2 separate regions of the Homo sapiens genome follow, and region 1 is linked to region 2. The links are contacts of gene promoters, found by promoter capture Hi-C in blood cells and fetal thymus (Javierre and others, 2016). All regions are on one chromosome and are shown on one strand. Each heading gives the region's core, a stretch centred on a gene start or on the middle of the fragment in contact. The rest is flanking DNA. Distances are from core to core; before and after follow the strand shown. Region 1 holds the start of NLRP13 (NLR family pyrin domain containing 13). Region 2 holds the start of ZSCAN5C (zinc finger and SCAN domain containing 5C).

Evidence for each region. The method cuts DNA at HindIII sites, captures the fragments that hold promoters and counts their contacts. A CHiCAGO score of 5 or more calls a contact.
Region 1: the fragment with the promoter of NLRP13 here is called in contact with the fragment with the promoter of ZSCAN5C in region 2 in 4 of 17 cell types (total B cells, naive CD8 T cells, activated CD4 T cells and 1 more); the score reaches 6.4 in total B cells.

Annotation. Positions count from the first base shown.
Region 1 is chr19:55,930,963-55,933,683 of GRCh38, forward strand. It overlaps NLRP13 (NLR family pyrin domain containing 13), which reads right to left and starts at 1,374. Exons shown (of 11, transcript NM_176810.2): 1 at 1,031-1,374. The coding sequence starts at 1,349. The HindIII fragment of the contact is 1,470 bases long and covers 1,249-2,718 here.
Region 2 is chr19:56,200,936-56,203,635 of GRCh38, forward strand. It overlaps ZSCAN5C (zinc finger and SCAN domain containing 5C), which reads left to right and starts at 1,338. Exons shown (of 5, transcript NM_001358413.3): 1 at 1,338-1,387. The HindIII fragment of the contact is 5,550 bases long and covers 946-2,700 here.

The sequences.
Region 1 (2,721 bases), core at 124-2,623, 270 kb before region 2:
TTACCACAATAAACACTGCACGATCCTACAACACCACAATCAGCCCTGTAACACCTCAGCAGGTCTTGCAATGCCACAGAAGATGTGGCATGAAACTTTACCCTGAGTAAAACATGAACTTTGCTTGTGAATATGGGAAGTGTCGCAGCTTGTGAGTTTTTGTGAAGTGAAAGAACAATGATCTGAAATCAGACAGAAAGTGTAGAATGGGCAAGGCTCGTACTGAGGAAGCGGGTAGATGTTTGAGGTACATGCCTGTGTGCATTGTGTACAATCCTACATGGCTCTGCTCGGCTGAGTGCAGGGTCGGTGGGTTGCGGGGGCAGGGCGGGGGTTGTTGTGGTTTCTTAGTGTTTCTCTTGGGCAAAACCATGCATAAGCTAACATGAAATCTGTGCTGCACTCAAATTGTTCCCAGTACGACAATCACACTGGGACAAATTTGCATGTTTAAAAGAAGCCTGGGCTGGGCGCGGTGGCTCACGCCTGTAATCCCAGTGCTTTGGGAGGTCGAGGCGAGCAGATCACGAGGTCAGGAGATTGAGACCATCCTGGCTAACACAGTGAAACCCCGTCTCTACTAAAAATACAAAAAAATTAGCCGGGTGTGGTGGCGGGCGCCTGTAGTCCCAGCTACTTGGGAGGCTGAGGCAGGAGAATCGCTTCAACCTGGGAGGCAGAGGTTACAGTGACCTCAGATCGCACCACTGCACTCCAGCCTGGGCGACAGAGTGGAGACTCAGGCTCAAAAAAAAAAAAAAAAGAAAGAAAGAAAGAAAGAAAAAGGCTTATAACATAACTGAATGTGCCTCTTCCGATTCCCTTTCTTGCCTTTGCTACTCCTTCCCAGGCTAGAGCACTAAATCTTTATAGCCTTTATGCCTTTAAACATCATACTGTCATAGATTATCAAGGAGGATTTGTAGGGGGAGATCGGCAGTGTGGAATGACCCCACAAAAACCCAGCGGCTACCTCCTTGCCTCAGGAGTACCAAGCAGCCCTCCCGCCTTCCTTCTTGAGGACTCTCACCTTTCATCTCGGCTCTAACTTTCTCACACAGTGAGGTCAGATTCATTGTCTGGAAGATGCCGAGGACCACTTTCCATGCCTGACCTTTTGGGAAGTGTTCATCCAAAAGAAAGGACAGATTCAAAGGGTCGGCAGCTCTCAAGTTTGCCCAGGGGATACGCGGGAAGTGCCCCTGGGGGGCCGACCAGAAGTCCATCAGCTGCTGGGGTTCCAAGCAAAGCTTGAATTCCTCCAGCTGATACTGATCCAGGGCCATCAGGTAAGGCAGAAGCCCTTGGTTGGTACCACCGTTGGGGCAGGTGATTACAGAAAAGTTCATCTTGCCCAACACATGCAGTTTCTCACTTCAGCAAAGGACTCCTATATCCACAGGACACTTGTGACCTGCAGAAAAGGAGAGAGTTGAAATCATAAGCCATAAATATCACCTCCTCTCACTGTCTTGCCTACACATTTGAGTATTTTCGCTTCACAGTACTTCCTGCTACTTGTGTTAGTACACTTTTTTGTTGTTGTTTTGTTTTTTGAGATGGAGTCTCGCTCTGTCCCCCAAGCTGAAGTGCAATGGTGCGATCTCGGCTCACTGCAAGCTCCGCCTCCCGGGTTCACGCCATTCTCCTGCCTCAGCCTCTTGAGTAGCTGGGACTACAGGTGCCCGCCACCACGCCCAGCTAGTTTTTTTTGTATTTTTAGTACAGATGGGGTTTCACCGTGTTAGCCAGGATGGTCTCGATCTCCTGACCTTGTGATCCGCCCGCCTCGGCCTCCCAAAGTGTTGGGATTACAGGCGTGAGCCACCGGGCCCGGCCTCAACTGGGTATTTTCTCTAGCAACCTTACCTAGACTCGAGATCACTGGCTTTCATCCCATCCCAGAAGGAACAATGCCATCAGCACCTGATTTATCTGCCTTACTAACAGTGACAGCTGTCCTAGAAAAGTTACAGGTGCATGATGGTACTTACCAACTCACATTCAGAGGGTTCACCTGAAATGTGAATAAGAAGAACATTGAAGTTAATTAGTCACAGTAAAGATCAAAGACATTTGAGAGATGGGAACGGGGGAAACTAATCAGGGAGAAGGGGTAACAAAGAGAGAAAATAGAAGTTTCCGCCCATCACGATTTTGGCCACCAGGCAGCTAATGGTGATTGAGACAGATCTGCCACTATTCCCCCATAGAACCTGGTCCGGCATGTATGCTGGGTCATGTCAAAATACCAGGTAGTATTGAAGGCAACAGATAGACAGCAGAACAAAAGACTTTTTTTTTTGTGATGGAGTTTCGCTCTCGTTGCCCAGGCTGGAGTGCAATGGCTGGATCTCGGCTCACTGGAGTCTTTGCCTCCCAGGTTCAAGTGATTCTCTTGCCTCAGCGTCCGAGTAGCTGGGACTACAGGTGCATACTGGCCTTGGCCTCCCAAAATGCTGGGATTACAGGCATGAGCCACCATGCCTGGCCCAAAACACTATGCTTGAAGCTACTGGTGTGTGACCCCCGAATGTCTCCCAAAGAGAAATCTCCAGAAGAGATGTATGTTAGGACCTACCCTGGCAGCCCAAATTCATTGGACTACTCCAGAAATTGTTGGAGAAAAGATGGGGAAAGACACACAGAGGAAAACTTGAAACATCATGAAGAAAAGCCCTTTCAGGTATAAGCAGGGAGGATAAAGACTAGGGGAAAAGC
Region 2 (2,700 bases), core at 88-2,587:
ACTCTGACTCACTATCAATACCTCAATTCTTAACAAGGAAAAACATCACAGAGTATGAGAAAATGCATCAGAAAATAAGTGTCAGAACTTTTTGGCAAAATGACCTTGTATCGGGCACTTTACTGACATAATCTGGTTTTTTGTTTGTTTGCTTTTTGAGATGGAGTTTTGCTCTTGTTGTCCAGGCTGGAGTGCAATGGCATGATCTCAGCTCACTGTAACCTCCGCCTCCCGGGTTCAAGTGATTCTCCTGCCTGAGCCTCCCGAGTAACTGGGATTACAGGCATGCGCCACCACGCCTGGCTAATTTTGTATTTTTAGTAGAGATGGGGTTTCTCCATGTTGGTCAGGCTGGTCTCAAACTCCTGACCTTGTGATCCACCCGCCTCAGCCTCCCAAAGTGCTGGGATTATAGGCGGGAGCCACCACTTCCGGCCAACATAATCTTATTTAATCTTCAAAACAACATGTCAGGAAGGTAATAATTCCCTGGTTCTAGTCACAGGGAGTTTGAAGTTTCCAGAATTCAGTGGGTTAAGATTTCCTAAGGATTGAAACCAGAATCAGTATAAAGTGCACTTAATTGTCATTCCACATGGTCTCCATGATCCACACAGTAAAATTCATACCACCATTAAGGCTTTTCTTGCTTGAGAGGCCTAACTGAGGGGGTTGAGAACTAGGGAGCACTCAGTATGTCTATAAACCACCTCCCATCATCCTAAAGTGAATGCAGAGTGGGGACCATGTGCCTTCCTCTGGTTCCCACTGTTTTTACCTAAGAGTAGGTTGGCTGATATCAAAGCAGTGATTTAGCCTAGTTCAAGCACAGCTTTCCCATGTCAATTCCCAGATTTTGAAAAGTGAAAAATTATCACTACTACTCATTATGTATCAACAATGACTGTCCCTTTTTTTTTCAATATCTTGACATTCACATGTGAAAGCTTTCCTTAAACTAGAGCAAATCACTGGTTTGATATTATTCAACCAACTCTTAACATGTCCTTTACTCATTAGGATATTACTGTCTGTGCCATGAGGGGACGCAAAGTGGTTAAAACTTGCAGATCTATAGTCCCTGAAGCCTCCAAATACTTCAGAAATATGAAATGTAATTCAGTAGAGCGGGAAAACCTATGTTATTTGCATGGTAGGCATGTTTAATACATTAATTTCCTGTGGGTGGGGTTTCATTGAGAAATGTAATCAATGCTAATCACCTTCAATGGATTCTATGGCCCTAAACCAATCATGTGGGGGCCCAGGGGACTGGAAGAGAGGCCTGGAGTCCCGGGGGTTCTCTATAAATAGACAGTTCAGCTCCAGAGCAGTTGGAGAGCACATCCTAGAAGAGAGGAGGCTGGAGGCAGAAGTCAGGAAGGAGGTAAGTGTCCACTGGGGATGTCTGTGGGGTTTTGGAGTTGGCCTGCAGGGGTTGGTTTCAGAAAGATTTGGATTGAGGGGTTGGTTTCAGAAAGATTTGGGTTGGGGTGTTGGTTTCAGAAAGATTTGGGTTTATTTTTTCATGCATTTGCCCGGACACCTTGTGAAGGCAGTGGGTCTGCTTTGCACCCTATTATTTATTCTGACTTGTTATATAACTCTCCCTTAAAATAGGAATAATATTAACTTTCTCATCGTGGTTAGGCTACATTTTATTTTTTAGAGATGAGATCTCTCTCATTGCCCAGACTAGACTGGAATTCCCGGACTCAAACGATCCGCCTGCCTCTGCTTCCCAAGTAGCAGGAACTACAGGCACTTGCCACCATGCCTGAATAAATGTTTAATTTTTTTTGTACAGATGGGGTCTCAGTACATTGCCCAGGCTGGTCCTGAACTCCTGGGATCAAGCATGCTCCCATCTTGGTCTTCCAAACTGTTGGAATTACAGGTGTGAGCCACCTTGCTGGCCACACACCACTTGTTAAAAAGCATCGCTGGATTCTCCCTTTCCACAGGGTAAAATCAGCCATTGATGAATGGGCATCAACCTACTAGGCCAATGAGAATCTGCACTAAGTGTCCCTACCTGGGGGTCCTGTGTGCTGTATACTCCCAGAATTGAATACTAACCCGCGTACCTGCCTTTATTTTTTCCCATGTCCCATTGCTTGTTTTAATGGGAAATGAACTGACAGCGAATACAAAGTGGTTTCTAGGAACATGAACCCCTTTTTTTAGAGACAGGCTCTCACTATGTTGCCCAGGTGGTTGTCAAACTCCTGGGCTCGAGGGATCCTCCCTCCTCAGCCTCCTGAGCAGCAGCAGGTGCCCTGTGGCAAAATCATTTTTAATTCCAGAATTTCAGGCTGCCTTTTCTCTCTCATATCCATATGCTTTTTCAAAAAAAAAAATTTACTTTTAAATTGAAAAACAAGAAAGATACGTATTTATGGTGTACAGCATAATGTGCTTTGCAGGATAGAAACAATGTAAAATGGGTAAATTGAGCTGATATTCACATGCCTTACTTTATGGACTAATCATTTTTGGTCATGAGGATGCTTAAAGTCTACTCTTTAAGCAATTTCCAATTATACAATACATTGTTATGAACTGAAGTCACCATGTTGGACAATTGCTCTCTTGAACTGATCTCTTCAACTGAAATTCATACCCTTAAACCTATATCTCCCCAACCCTCACCATAGCCCTGTTAACCACCATTCTACTCACTGCTACTATGAGTCTACT